Regions from separate parts of the Homo sapiens genome. Here regions 1, 3 and 4 are each linked to region 2. Evidence: promoter capture Hi-C in 16 types of primary human blood cells and fetal thymus (Javierre and others, 2016). All regions are on one chromosome and are shown on one strand. Each heading gives the region's core, a stretch centred on a gene start or on the middle of the fragment in contact. The rest is flanking DNA. Distances are from core to core; before and after follow the strand shown. Region 1 overlaps ZNF230 (zinc finger protein 230). Region 2 holds the start of ZNF260 (zinc finger protein 260). Region 3 holds the start of ZNF222 (zinc finger protein 222). Region 4 holds the start of ZNF224 (zinc finger protein 224).

The links. Contacts are between HindIII fragments. The CHiCAGO score rates a contact against its expected background, and 5 or more counts as called.
Region 1: a fragment that was not itself captured here is called in contact with the fragment with the promoter of ZNF260 in region 2 in 1 of 17 cell types (non-activated CD4 T cells); the score reaches 8.6 in non-activated CD4 T cells.
Region 3: the fragment with the promoter of ZNF222 here is called in contact with the fragment with the promoter of ZNF260 in region 2 in 5 of 17 cell types (activated CD4 T cells, non-activated CD4 T cells, naive CD8 T cells and 2 more); the score reaches 13.3 in activated CD4 T cells.
Region 4: the fragment with the promoter of ZNF224 here is called in contact with the fragment with the promoter of ZNF260 in region 2 in 5 of 17 cell types (non-activated CD4 T cells, total CD4 T cells, monocytes and 2 more); the score reaches 12.8 in non-activated CD4 T cells.

The regions. Positions count from the first base shown.
Region 1 is chr19:44,006,159-44,009,666 of GRCh38, forward strand. ZNF230 (zinc finger protein 230) reads left to right here. Exons shown (of 5, transcript NM_006300.4): 2 at 853-935; 3 at 2,632-2,758; 4 at 2,926-3,012. The coding sequence starts at 921. Among named protein-coding and RNA genes, the nearest start is that of ZNF230, 5.0 kb to the left of the region's middle. The HindIII fragment of the contact is 6,269 bases long and covers 1-3,508 here.
Region 2 is chr19:36,526,037-36,529,599 of GRCh38, forward strand. ZNF260 (zinc finger protein 260) reads right to left here and starts at 2,235. Exons shown (of 3, transcript NM_001166037.2): 1 at 2,183-2,235. RefSeq lists enhancers at 1,532-2,242, 1,983-2,612, 2,243-2,951, 2,763-2,962. The HindIII fragment of the contact is 4,591 bases long and covers 703-3,563 here.
Region 3 is chr19:44,023,829-44,027,566 of GRCh38, forward strand. ZNF222 (zinc finger protein 222) reads left to right here and starts at 1,551. Exons shown (of 4, transcript NM_001129996.2): 1 at 1,551-1,650; 2 at 3,195-3,321; 3 at 3,570-3,662. The coding sequence starts at 1,609. ZNF222-DT (ZNF222 divergent transcript) reads right to left here and starts at 1,454. Exons shown (of 3, transcript NR_184028.1): 1 at 1,287-1,454; 2 at 1,070-1,191; 3 at 1-71. RefSeq lists enhancers at 1,517-1,566, 1,797-1,846. The HindIII fragment of the contact is 1,542 bases long and covers 1,366-2,907 here.
Region 4 is chr19:44,092,172-44,095,827 of GRCh38, forward strand. ZNF224 (zinc finger protein 224) reads left to right here and starts at 2,190. Exons shown (of 6, transcript NM_001321645.3): 1 at 2,190-2,359. RefSeq lists an enhancer at 2,000-2,109. The HindIII fragment of the contact is 10,144 bases long and covers 1-3,656 here.

The DNA of each region.
Region 1 (3,508 bases), core at 22-2,521, 7.5 Mb after region 2:
TGATGAGGTTTCCTCTTTATTGCAACATAACAGGGTTCACATGATGTGGTTTGTCCCTTCACTGGTGATCTCAACTGTGTTCACTTGGCCAAGATGATGCCTTTCAGATTTGTCCGCTGTAAAGTTACCTTTTTTAAAAAAACTCAAGTTTCTTATTGGAAGGTACATTATTAGTGGGCATTCTACTAAAGATGAACTTCTAGTTCTCTTCATTTATTCATTTGTTTGTTCAAGTATAAATCTCCCAACAATATGGACTCAGAATTCAGTCTTATGAAGGTAAATGACATGTGGATTAGCAATTTTTTTTCAACTCTATTGAGGTATATTTTACATAAAGCATTCACTCATTTCAGGAGTACAGTGATCTTTAGGAACTTTGTAAAGTGGAGTAACCATCATCATAATTCAGTTTAGTTATTTTTCACCCTCAGTTGGACTCTGTGCCCATTTACAATTAAACCTCATTCTCACCCCAAATCTGGAGCAACCACTAACCTACTTTTCCTCTATGTATACATTTGCCTATTCGGACATTTCATATAAATGGAATCATCTAATCCATGGATTTTGGTGACTGGCTTCTTTCTCTTATGATGTTTCCAAGGTTTGTGCATGTTGTAGCATGGGTTGGTACTTCATTCCTTTTAATTTCCAAATTAGATTCCATTATATGGATATGCCATGATTTTTCTATCCATTTACCCAGAGGAAGGCATTTTGGTTGTGCACAGTTTTGGGGTTAGTATGAATAATGCTGCTGTGATCATTCATAATACATGTGCTTGTTGCTACACAGCCTCCCCAGCCACCATTTCATGTCTCTCTTTTGCTGTCTCTGGCATTTTCCAGGCACAATTCCACCTTCCTTTGTGCTCCATTACTCAAGACACTGAAGACTCCAAAAAGTAGTAGGAAAAATGACCACATTCAAGGTGAGTAGAGCTCACCTCTCTTGCTATTAAAATTCCATCTTATTGCTCATATTGTCATATATTTTTCTCTGTCTTGGGAAGACTCAAGGAGGAAATGGGCATTTGGGACCTGTTGTGTGCCAGTTGCTTCCTTTGTCTCTTTTGTGTTGACTTTGCATTTGGTTTTTGGTTTGGGTTTTGTTTTGTTTTTTACTGTTACATTATGGAGTAGAAAAATTAGTAGGAATGAACAGTGCTCCCACTTCTTCACCTCCTTGCTCTCAAATTAGCCTGATTTTTCTTCTTGTGCTGTTCCTTGTACATTCATAACTGTATTTGTATTGATGATGGAGTTCCTTATGTCAAGAGTGCTCTATACACCAAGATAACATGTCCTTCTGGTTTTCTTCATACTTGTCCATCAGATAGTTAGTCCCCCTTTCTGTGGAGGCCCACATTGCGCATGTTGGCTCCATTTCTCTTAGATGCTCCAGGGACCCTCTGACCCACTTCACCCACCTCCTGAGTCCTCTGGCCCCAGGAATGAGCTATTATTTAAGGTGTCGCAATCAGCGGATCACACACCAAGCTCCTGTGTTTCCGTATTCTGTCCTTCTGTCTCAATCCATGCAGCCAGCTCACATCTGTGGAGGGGTGGCCTGTGTCCCGCTTATCATTCTGTCTTCTTTATAAATCATCAAGCTGCTGTCCAGCCTGCGCCCCCAGGCTGCCATCACAGCACTGGGCCAATTGCCCAGGATATAAGTGCTCCCCCTTTGCCAGTCCAGAGTTCTGTCAAATTGGACCCTGCTGGCTGCACCAATTCCATGGAACAGGTTCACTAGTTACAGACTTGGCGAGTCTACCATGAGAGAGCACACTCATGTATGACAAATTACATAAAGCAGATTTATTACATGTAGGTAGCAAGGGACAACAGAAGCCTATGATCCACTGTGAGCCAGTCCTCCAAGGCTTAAGAAAGCTGCCTAGAGTGGGTGGAGTCACGACTGCACTTGCCCCATTTGCACCATAGCTGAGGCACCCCAAGAGGCAGCCTGTCCCAGGCTATATGCCTCAGGGGTAACATGACTTACTGAGCAGTTCCTCTCTAACTCAAGATATTATCTTTTATGGATTGGACTAGAACCAAAGAAGGCATAAAAAAAAATAAAAAGATGTTATCTTCCCTGGGAAGGACACTGCATAACTAGCACATTTATGGTTATTCTTGAGACCTATAAACAAGAAAGTGGGGAGAATGGATCCAAGGCTACTTTGAAAATAGTTACCTAAAACCTGTTAGTTTGGCAAATACTAAAGAAAAGTGATAGCATCCAGGGTTTGGGTCTGAGAGAGGAGGACAATAAGCCTCATCAAACAAGGTTGAGACTGAATTGCTCATTGTTGCTGGGGCAACTGGGGCAATTGGCAAAATTCATTGAAACCTATATAGGTGTAGCCCAGGATGCACCATTTGAAATCCTAAGGGGTTACTTACAAGGAGACTCAGTAAGTGCACAAAGTAAAAATACAGGAGGTCTTTTTCATGATTGCACTTCTGGTGGAGCTCAGGAAAATCACTGTCAGGATACAGACAGAATGAGTGGGAAATCTATAAGTTGACCTCCACTTCTCCTCTCCGCCTGCTCAATGCTGCTCCTCCCCCAGTAGTCCATGGTCATAGGATTGAGGTTATGTATCCTTGATGTTATAGGAGGCAGTGACCTTCAAGGATGTGGCTGTGTTCTTCACTGAGGAGGAACTGGGGCTACTGGACCCTGCCCAGAGGAAGCTGTACCAAGACGTGATGCTTGAGAACTTCACGAACCTGCTGTCAGTGGGTGAGCACAGGCACCCTCTGTAATGGTACATCAGGCCTCAGGAGTGGCTTTGTATCCTAGAGTATTCAAGTTTGTGTATGCAGTGGGAACTTAAATTTCCAGTAAATTTTACCTTGATATTACCTAGAATGAATTGGTATTAAGCACATGACTTTGCATGTTCACAGGGCATCAACCATTCCACCCTTTCCACTTCCTAAGGGAAGAAAAGTTTTGGATGATGGAGACAGCAACCCAAAGAGAAGGAAATTCAGGTAAGAAGCAAGCAACTGTGTGTCCTTGTACATGACTTTCTTTCCCATTTGTTTTACTTCTGACCATGCCCACTTATATCACCCTGATCTAAATTGCCCAATCTCTTTCCTGGTTTATTACAACCCCTTTCTGGCTGGTGGTCCTGTTCCCTCCCTTCCACCCTGACATCTATTTTCCCCCGAGCAGCCAAAATGATCCTTGGGAAATGCAAGTCAGTTTTCCACTCCTTGGTCCAAAAGCCTTTATGGTTTATTAATGTTATTAAAGTTACAACCTCTTTATTGGCTTTTAGAGACCCTGAGGTTTGTTCTTCATCCCCTGCTGCCTCTTGACTACATCTGTCCTCTCGCCCTTGCATCATCTTTTCCAGCCACGTTGTCCTCCCTGCTGTTACTCTGTCCTGTCATGGACACTGTATTCCCTGTTGCTGGTAACAAATAACAGACTTCACAGATTAAACAACACTTTTGTTCTTTCTGACATGGGGAGGACGGT
Region 2 (3,563 bases), core at 985-3,484:
TGATATGGAAAAAAATACAGGAAATTATTCTGATGGTATTTATAGGTCAGAGCTCTAAAAAATTTAGAGGACTAATATTTTACTTAGATTAACTAGGAGAAGTTAAATATAGTAAGTGTCCTATAATAATAATCTTCCCTTGATATCACAGGAGATTGGTTCCAGGATCACTGTGGATACCAAAATCTGCAGATGCTCAAGTCCCTTATACTTCAAATATAAAGCCAGGCATGGTGGCTCACGCCTGTAATCCCAGCACTTTGGGAGGCTGAGGCAGGCTGACCACCTGAGGTCAGGAGTTCGAGACCAGGCTGGCCAAGATGGTGAAACCCTGTCTCTACTAAAAATAAAAAAATTAGCTGGGCATGGTGGCACACACCTGTACCTCAGCTACTTGGGAGGCTGAGGCAGGAGAATCGCTTGAACCCAGGAGGCAGAGGTGGCAGTGAGCCGAGATTGCACCACTGCACTCCAGTCTGGGTGACAGAGTGAGACTCCATCTCAAAAAAATAAAAATAAAGTGAATGGAAGTATATTTACATATAACCTATGCACATCCTCCCATATACTTTAAAATTATCTCCAGATTACTTATCATACGTAATACAACGTAAATGTCTGGTAAATAGTTGTTATACTGTATTGTTTAGGGAATCATGACAAGAAAAAAAAATCTGTACACGTACAGATACAACCATCGCAAGCTTAACAACAGTTATGATTCATGTTTGTTGAATCCGTGGAAGCAGAGCCTACAGACACAGAGGGCTGACTGTTCATTCACTGATTCAGCAAACATATACATTTATGATTATGTGTGCTGAGAAACCTTGGTTTACAATTTGTAATGGGATATAACAAATCAAAGGATCAAACTTACTTAGAAGCCTTCTCTAAGATGTAAGTGCCTTAGAACCTGGCTAGACAGTGCTATAAATTGCTGAAACAGGTACAGAGGGGAAATAGATGGAGGCAGACTGCAGGAAGAAGGAGCCCTTTAGACATAAAGAGCTTGAAGTTCCCTGTAACTTCCAGGTGGACTGCACATTGGGCAATTAGATAATATGGATTAGGAGCTCAGGACAAGCCTCCAGCAGAAACAGACATTTATTAGTCATCTGTATTAGATGAAGCCATGGATGGCAGTGTAATGTTGTTGCTGATAGGAGTACTTAGATGATCAAGGCCAGAAACTTAGAAACACCAATAGTTAGGGGAAAAGCAGAAACTAAGTCCTGTCTTCTTTGTATCTTTTACTTTTTCTGTATATTTCAAAACTATTAACCCTGTTACTTTTTTATTTTATTGAAAAATATGTTAAGAATAAGTGTGACAAGATACTTGAATATGTTGATATGTTAAGAATAAGTGTGACAAGATACTTGAAGATAGGATACTTCTATCTTTGTATACACAAGAAAAGAATTTCCCCTATATTTACAAAAGGCTGGGGAAACCCTGATTAAATTAGGAGTGAGATTGCTGCCCTCACTGACGAACTAGGGAGTTTCTTGACCTCTGCGCTAAAGGCAGGACAAGTAGCTTCCAAATTCTGTGCCGTCTGCGCTATTGGAAACTACCTCTTAAAGATATTCCTTAGTTCAGGGTTTCTCCAAGCAACTGCACCAAAGTTTCTCCAAAGTATTAAGAAAAGTCAATGCCTACTGGGTGTACAGGCACCCAGTAACAAGTTTTTCCGAAATCTTGCCTCTTTAAAAAAATAATGGAAAGGTAATGCTGATTTTGTTTTCTACTCCACAATAGGTCTGCTTTTATATAAAAAATCACCTTTAAAATTACTTATCCGCTCAATTCCTTAGCCTTTTCCGTTTCCTATTTTCCAGAAAACGCATCTTTATTATTTTAGAAATGAGAAAAGTGAGGCTTAGAGGTTACTACCTCACAAAGCCATCCGTCCATCCTCACAAACTTGGAACCAGTTTCTCACTAACTCTGCACCCTCAACACCCCCTCACACTCTCGGTCACCCACCCGCGAACCCACCCGAACTGTACCCCTGCCCCCAGCCACACAAGCTCGGATCACCGCACATCATAGAAGGCGATTCCTCCCCTCCATACTCCCAGCCCCGTCGCAGGCACTGCAAATCCTCCCCTCCAGCGTCCCTGGCCCGTTTCAGTGTCCAGAAACCCAAGTCCCACAGGGCCGAAACCCAACTCACCGGCAGACAAAGACGACCATGGCAAGTCGGAGATTCCGCGCCTGCGCACTCCTTCCGCGGGCAGCGCTCCCAGAGGTCTCCTGGGCTGGGCCAGGCCCCGACTCAGAACCGGACGGAATCGAGAGATCTTGGCCCGTCCTCCGTGCCACTCTTTTGAGGGTAGACTACATTTCCCAGAAGGTTCAGCGGTTTGAGTCAGCTTTTCGCGCGAACTTTTCCTCCGCCAGAGCTTGTGGGACTGTCTCCCTGGCCGGGGCAGGGGTGTAAGGCCTTAGTCTTAGTTTACTCTATCCCTGGGATTGGGTAGTGGTGTAACATCAGCTTAAACACGCTGTGCTGACTTTATGTAACAGCCACGGTGCGATACTAAGCCAGGAACCCCAGGAGACTCTCAGACACGGTTCGGGAATGAGGGTAATCCCTTTGGCTGGGCTCAAGCCGGGCGCCATCTTGCTCATCGCGGGCGTGGCGCTGAACTACATTTCCCAGAAGGCGCCGCGCCCTCGGCCCCTCCCCTCGCGACTCCCGCGGCTCGGGGGAGAGCTGCACGCGACCCAGGTGCTGGCCTCTGAGCGGGTCGGCTCGGAGACTACAGGATCAGGAGGAGGTTGGAGGTGAAGCGTCTGGAATCCGGTGCGGAGGTTGAGACTGAGTATTAAGTCTGTTCAGGCGGAACGCGCCGAGAAGGGCGGTTGTGAAATTGTGTTTTTGTGAATGTATGTCCTAGCACAGTGTGTGTGTGATTGTGATTGTGTGTGACACCTTGTGTACGGATGTGGGGAGGACTCTGCGGGTGTCCCGTGAGTCCCTGTGTTAGGACTGTTATTGTGTGACTGTGTAACGCTGTGTGAGGGTGTGGGTTAGCTGTGACTGTGTGCCCGCGGTGGGTGTGTGATTGTAACTCTGTGACCATATGTTCGTTTGTGTGCAGATATAGGGAGCTTTGTACTTATGTAGTTGTGACTCTGTGTCCTTGTGTGGGAGTATGGAGGGTGGGTGCTTGTGACTTTGTGTACAGTGGTGGGTGTGTGACTGTGAAGCATTGGGTGTGCGTGGAGTTGAGACTGTGTTTGTGTGTCTTTGACCAAATGTCACACATAGTCATATGTGAGAGCAGAAGACAGCTCGGCCCCGTGATAGTAAAGGGGATTTTTCTATGACACTGAGTTTTGAGTTGGAAGCCCCAGTTTCCTCTGATAGCCCTCCCATGGCGGGGGAGGGGAACGCAGAGTAAGCTCTGGCCTTGTCATTTGGGCCCTAGGGGAGGTGTATTGTCTCCCTTCTCATTTCTGTCCTCCAAGAGAGGTTCCCCAGAGGAGAGGAAATAACGGTTGTGATATCTAAAAGCCATGTTTAAGGTGCCTTGAAGTTTTCTCTTTGT
Region 3 (3,738 bases), core at 301-2,800, 7.5 Mb after region 2:
TCTTCTAATATCAGGAACACAATGAGTTTTCTCCACTTTTCCCACATTTAGTCAATGTAGTATTGGAAGTTCTATGCAGAACAATTAGATAGAAAAAGAAAATAAAGCTATTAAAATTGGAAACAGAGGTAAAATTGTCTATATGCTAATGACATGTTCTTATATATAAAAATTCTAAAGAATTCACAAGAAAAAAAAACTCTTAGAGCTAGTAAAGTCAGAAAGTTGCAGGAAAAATATCTACATAGAAGAAGCAGTTGTATTTCTATACAAAAACAATTAATCTGAAAAGGAAAATAGTTCCCTTTGCAATAGCATTAAATAAATAAATTACTTAGGAACTGTCTTAACCAATGACAAGAAACACTTGGACACTGAATTTTGCAACATCTTACTAAAGAAAATTAAAGAAGGCACCCCAGGCATGGTGGCTTATGCCTGTAATCCCAGCACTTTGTGAGGCCCAGGCAGGCGAATAACTTGAGGCCAGGAGTTCGAGATCAGCCTGGCCAACCTGGTGAAACCCCTGTCTTCACTAAAAATACAAAAATTGGCCAGGTATGGTGGTACGTGCCTGTAATCCCAGCTACTTGGGAGGCTGAGGCAGGAGAATCGCTTGAACTCAGGAGGCGGAGGTTGCAGTGAGCCAAGATTGTGCCACTGCACTCCAGCTTGGGCGACAGAGTGAGACTCTGTCTCAAAAAAAAAAAAAAAAAAATTAAAGAAGGCGCAAATAAATGGAGATATATCCATTATTAATGGATTGGGCGACTTGATATTGCAAGGCTGTCAATACCTATATCTATAGATTCAATGCAATCCTTAATCACAGTAACATTTTTCTCAGAAATGAAAAAATCCACCTGAGATTCATGTGAAATATCAAGGGACACTCTCTCCCATGGTCATATTTTAGACCTCGTCATTTTCTAGCAAATATTCCTCCATAATAATTTGCAGCACTACTCTCCAACAACTTTGACTTGTATTTCCACCTTGGTCCCACCAGCATGCTAGCATCAGTAATATTAGAACCTCGCCAATACCTACAGTCCACTGAGACGATCACCTTTTTACTCTTTCAACTCCTCGTGTACTCACAGCCTGCCAAGCACATTTCTTGTCAGGAGAGGACAGCTCACTTCTCCTAATGTCTCACTTCCCAAAATTGTGTCCCATGAAAATTTCTAGCTAGATGAAGGCAGAGAAAGAAAATATTTGATTTCTTAGGCTTTATGGAAGCGATAGGAATGGCAATAGTGGTTTGGAATGGAGACTGCACGCACCAGTCAACAGGGTGTGTCCCGAATAAGCAGTGGGTAAAGGACATTTACTGAAATGCTATCTCCAACTCCACTTCAGGAAAGCTTGCTGCAGAGTTAGAGTGATATAGTCCAAATGCTCTGTTTGAGTCGCGGGCCCTTTGTCTCACACGGGCGAGTCCGGGGAATTCTGGGAAGTGGAGTCCACACGCTCTGTGGAGGCTCGAGCACTTCCGGTCCCCAACTGTGACGTTGCTATTTCATTTACCACAGTAGTTTGAGTCATTTCCACATCTTGCGAGTCCTTCCGAACGAGTCTCCTTTCCTTGGGGCTCGCAACCACCCAATGATCGATTCAGGAGAAAAGAAGCCTGGGCGGAGAGCAGAGGTTTGGAGGGGCGCGGGCGGGGATTGCCGTTCCAGTCAGCTGAGCCTTCTGGCGTCGGGGGGCTCTGCTAGGGTCTCAGGGAGTGGGATTGGCGCGGCCCGGTGTGCCCTACTTTGACCTCGCTTAGTCCGCCTCCCTCCTCCCTACGTGTGCAGCCCCTTTCAGTGTGGTGTGGAGTGTCACTTAATGTCCGTTTATCTTCCATTGCTGGTTCGTTTGTTTGTTTGTTTTGTAACGGGACTTTTCGGACCATCCTAATGGATTCATTTTGGGACCTGAAAGAGGTAACACAAATGAGAGCCTTAAAAGCAGTCCCTGTCACTCGGTGTCTGGTGGTCTCTTGTTAATTTCCCACGAAGCCTGTCAGGTCCTCTGGTGGGGTCAGAGCTCCAGCTGCAGGGGCGCCGGCCCTTCTGCCTGATCCCTGCAGGACGCTGGATGATCCCTGACGCCTTCTGACCTCTTTTTAGGAAAGTGAGGGGAGCATTTAACTTTTATGGGGGACGGCAAAACGGTCAGGGTGTTTCACAGCTTTCTTTTTCCCCAGCCCGACCTTTCTAAAAGAGCTGCAGGAAGGGACTTCTTGGCTACTGATGGCAAAGCTCTACGTGAGTGATCCTTGGCTTTTTTTCTTTGACAGAGATGCTTACCTCAACCGAGAGTGTGTAGGATTTGTCCCTCGGGCATGGGTGTCGATAATGATTAAGCCTTAATTGGTAACTTTATTCCAAGTACTTTATACCCCAAAATACATGATCTTCACAGTGGCACTGTGGAGAGGTGCTGCTTTTTTCATTTTAAAGATGGGCGTGAGACACAGGTGGAGCAGGAGTTGAAACCTAGGCAGTCCAGGTTAGAGCCTGAGTTGATCATCTCTTGAATGCAATTCTCATTGAGGCAGAGGTACTAGCTGGGAACAGGTGGAGAACGTAAGTTAGGACTTGATTGAAGGCACCTTGAGGCAAGGCTCAGGGGCTTGGACTTCTATAGGAGTTTTTGTTTGTTTGCTTTTTGCTTTTTAATTTTTTTAACCTTATCTACTATTTTCTTTCTCTCTCTCTCTCTATATATATATATATTTTTTTTTTTACAGAGTTTCGCTCTTGTTGCTTAGGCTGGAGTGCAGTGGTGCAATCTTGGCTCACTGTAACCTCCGCCTCTCGGGTTCAAGTGATTCTCCTGCCTCAGTCTCATTTTCGTCAAAGGGCCCGCGACTCAAACAGAGCATTTGGACTATATCACTCTAACTCTGCAGCAAGCTTTCCTGAAGTGGAGTTAGAGATAGCATCTCAGTAAATGTCCTTTACCCACTATTTATTCAGGACACACCCTGTTGACTGGTGTGTGCAGTCTCCATTCCAAACCCCTATTGCCTAATCAGTCATTGTCAGGACACAAACAGAATAAGTAGGAAATCTATAAGCTGACCTATGTCTCTCAAGATCCAAAACAACTTTACACTTGTCCCTTGTGCCAGTGCAATGCTGCTGTCTCCCAATAGTCTTTGGCCGTAAGATTGAGGTGACATCTGCTTGATGTTGTAGGAGGCAGTGACCTTCAAGGATGTGGCTGTGATCTTCACTGAGGAGGAGCTGGGGCTGCTGGACCCTGCCCAGAGGAAGCTGTACCGAGATGTGATGCTTGAGAACTTCAGGAACCTGCTCTCAGTGGGTGAGGACGGGCACCCCCTGTAATGGAATGTCAGGCCCCAGGAGTGGTTTTTTAATCCTAGGGTTTTCAAGTTTGAGTGTGCAGTGAGAACCTACATTTCCAGTAAATTTTGCCTGGCTATTAGGTTGGTGCAAAAGTAATTGTGGTTTTTGTCATTGGAAGTAATGGTACACTGCAATTACGTTTGCACCAACATGATATTACCTTGAACATGTTGGGATTAAGCATGTGACTTTGCCTGTTCACAGGGCATCAACCATTCCATGGAGATACTTTCCACTTCCTAAGGGAAGAAAAGTTTTGGGTGATGGGGACAACAAGCCAAAGAGAAGGGAATTTGGGTAAGAACCAAGCAATTGTGTGTCCCTGCATGTGATTCCTGTTACTTCTGTCCATGCCCATTTCCAGCATTTTGGG
Region 4 (3,656 bases), core at 940-3,439, 7.6 Mb after region 2:
CCAGGAGTTTTGAGGTGTAGTGAGCTATGCCCACTGGGTGTCCACACTAAGTCGACATCAACATGGTGATCTCCCAGGAGCAGAGGACTACCAGGTTGCCTCAGGAGAGGTAAACTGGCCCAGGGTGGAAACACAGCAGGTCAGAACTCCCATGCTGATCAGTAGTGAGATGTTGTCTGTGAATAGCCACTGCAATTCTGCCTGCACAACGCAGGGAGACCCCGTTTTCAATTTATACACACACACATATACATATACATATATATTTTATACATACATATATACAAAATAAGTATTGGAGAGGATGTGGAGAAATTACTACCCTCACACACTGAAGGTGGGAATGTAAAAATGGTGCAGTTGCTGTGGAAAATTGTTTCGTGGTTCCCAACATAGAATTACCATATGAATCACTAAATTTCATATCTAGGTATATACCCCAAAGAATTGAAAGTAGGTGATGAAACAAATACTTGTACACCACTGTTTGTAGCAACACTATTGACTACAGCCAAAAGGTGGAAAGAACCCAAATGTCCCTCAATCAATGAATGGATAAACAAATTGTGGCGCAAGCCTGTAATCCCAGCACTTTGGGAGGCTGAGGTGGGCGGATCACCTGAGGTAAGGAGTTCGAGACCAGCCTGACTAACCTGGTGAAACCCTGTCTCTACTAAATACAAAAAAATTAGCTGGGTGTGGTGGCGCATGGCTGTAATGCCAGCTACTTGGGAGGCTGAGGCAGAAGAATCGTTTTAACCCAGGAGGCGGGGGTTGCAGTGAGCTGAGATCGTGCCATTGCACTCCAGCCTGGGCATCAAGAGGGAAACCCCACCTCAAAACAAAACAAGACAAAGCAAACAAAAAAAACAAATCGTAGTAGAAACATAAAATATTATGAAGTACTGGTACATGCTGTGATGTGGATGAACTTTAAAAGCAGTATGCTGGCAGGGCGCGGTGGCTCACGCCTGTAATCCCAGCACTTTGGGAGGCCGAGGCGGGAGGATCACGAGGTCAAGAGATCGAGACCATCCTGGCTAACACGGTGAAACCCCGTCTCTACTAAAAATACAGAAAAATTAGCCAGGCGTGGTGGCACGCGCCTGTAGTCCCAGCTACTCGGGAGGCTGAGACAGGAGAATCGCTTGAACCCGGGAGGCGGAGGTTGCAGTGAGCTAAGATCGTGCCACTGCACTCCAGCCTGGCACTTTTTTTGAGATTCCGTCTCAAAAAAAAAAAAAAGAAGCAGGATGCTAAGTGAAAGGTGTCAGAAACAAAAGGTTCCATAATGTATAATTCCATTTATATGAAATGTCCACAATAGGTAATTCAATAGGACAGAGATTAGTGTTAGACAGTGACTGCTTAGTGGGTATGGGGTTTTTGGGGTGATGAAAATGTTTCCTAACTTTTTATTTGTACTACATATATCCTAAAATGGTGAATTTCACGTTTTGTGCATTACACCTCAATAGAGATGTTTTAAATAATAAAATACATTAAAATGTTTTGCATAGATAAAACAATAAAAAAAAACGTTTTTGTTGAGAAAATATTTGCGAGATAAAATGTTAATATCATGAATATAAGAACAGTGCTTGAAAAGTGAGGGATAAAACCAAAAACTCAATAAGAAAGTGGGCAAAACATCTGGACAATTTACAAAAAATGTAATAATGACACCTGAAAATATGCAAGAATATGCCATCTTTACAAGAGTTATAAATTAAAACTACATGCCATTTCTTACCACTGGCAAAACTTATTTGAAGAGTGTATCATCTCGCTTGTTCCCTTTCCAGTAACACTCCTGTCCTCACTAGAGGGGTTTAGACTTCAGGAATTCCTTTCTATACGGTATTTTCTCTTAGGCACCCAGGGAGAGGGAAGGACGACTCTCAGGGTAGAAGTCCACATTTCCCAACAGGCGCTCGGGGGTACGAGATTCGTTCCCCGTGGGAAGAGTGGTCAAGGGCTTCCCAGTAGTCGTCAACACTTCCCTTTGAGTGTAATGCTGCAGGAGTACAGTCCAGACCCTCAGTGGAATCGCGGTCGGTTTAGCTCCGGCAGTTGGGTCCCAGGGAATTCTGGGAAGTGTAGTCCAGACGCTCAGTGGAGTCGCGGTCAGTTTGGCTCCGGCTGGCGGGTCCCGGGGAATTCTGGGAAGTGGAGTCCAAACATTCGGTGGAGTCGCGGACACTTCCGCTCGGGGACTGAGGTTGCTGCAGTTTTTCCGCGATAGTTTGGGGCAGTTCCGCGCGTTGCAGGCCCTTCTGAATTTCCTGGACCTACGCATTGGATCCTCAAAGAACTGGTGATCGAATTAGGGGAAAAGGGGCCTCGTCGGAGAGTAGAGGTTTGGAGGGGCAAGGGCCGCTGTTTGCGTTCTCGTCCGTGGCACCTTCTTGGGCTTGGGTCTGTCCTCGCTTCCCGGGGGCATTGGTACTTGGTTGGGTCGCGTCTCACCTGGTTTCAGGGTTTCCGGGGCTCTGAGCTCGCCCACTCCGCCCCCTGCACCCCACGCGCGTGGCCACTTCTTCTCGATATAACGTTGGGGTGTTAATCTCCTTGGGTTTCCCGTTACTGTTCTTTAAAATGGGGACTTTAGGGCCATCCTAATGGAATCGTTTTGGGAACTGGAAGAGGTAACACAAATGAGAGCCTTAAAGCAGTCCCTGTCACTTGGTGACTGGTGGTCTCTTGTTAATTTCCCACGAAGGACCGGGTGGGGTCAGAGCTCCAGCTGCAGGGGCCTCGGCCCTTCTCCCTGATCCCTGCAGGACGCTGGATGATCCCGGAAGCCTTCTGACCTCTTTTTAGGAGAGCGAGGGTTGCGTCCACTTTCATGAAGGGAAAGGAGCATTTAACTTTTATGGGGGACGGCGACGCGGTCAAGGTGTTTCACAGCTTTCTCGTTCCCCAACCCGACCTTTCCAGAAGAGCTGCAGGGAGGGACTTCTTGGCTTCTGAGGGCAAAGCTCTACGTGAGTGGTCCTTGGCTCTTTGACCGAGATGCTCACCCCAACCGAGAGTGTATAGGTTGTGTCCTCGGGCATGGGGGTCGATAATAATTAAGTCTTAATTAGTAACTTCATTCTAAGGGCTTTATACAAATAAATTTACGCCACACCGTGGCTCTGTGGAGAAGTATTGCTTTTTTCTATTTTAAAAACGAAAGTGAGACACAGAGCGCATAGGCACCCGACTAGTGAGAGGTGGAGCTGGGGTTGGAACCTAAGCAGTCTGGGTCAGAGCCTGATTTGATCTTCTCTTGGGATACGTTGTCACTGAGGCAGAGGAACTAGTTGGACTTAGGTGGGGAAAGCAAGACTTAGGGGCTTGAAATTTTCTGAGTTTCTAAAAATGTTGTCAACTATTTTGTTTCAATCATTACAAATATTTTGTATTCTTATAGAACCATGTCATTGTACAGCATTCTATTTTTCTTTATTAAGAACAAAATGGGCCTGGCGCGGTGGCTTACGCCTGTAATCCCAGCACTTTGGGAGGTCCAGGCGGGCGGATCACGAGGTCAGGAGTTCGAGACCAGCCTGGCCAACATGGTGAAACCGCATCTCTACTAAAAAATAATTACAAAAATTAGCTGGGCGTGGTGGTGGGCGCCTGTAATCCCATCTACTCGGGAGGGTGAG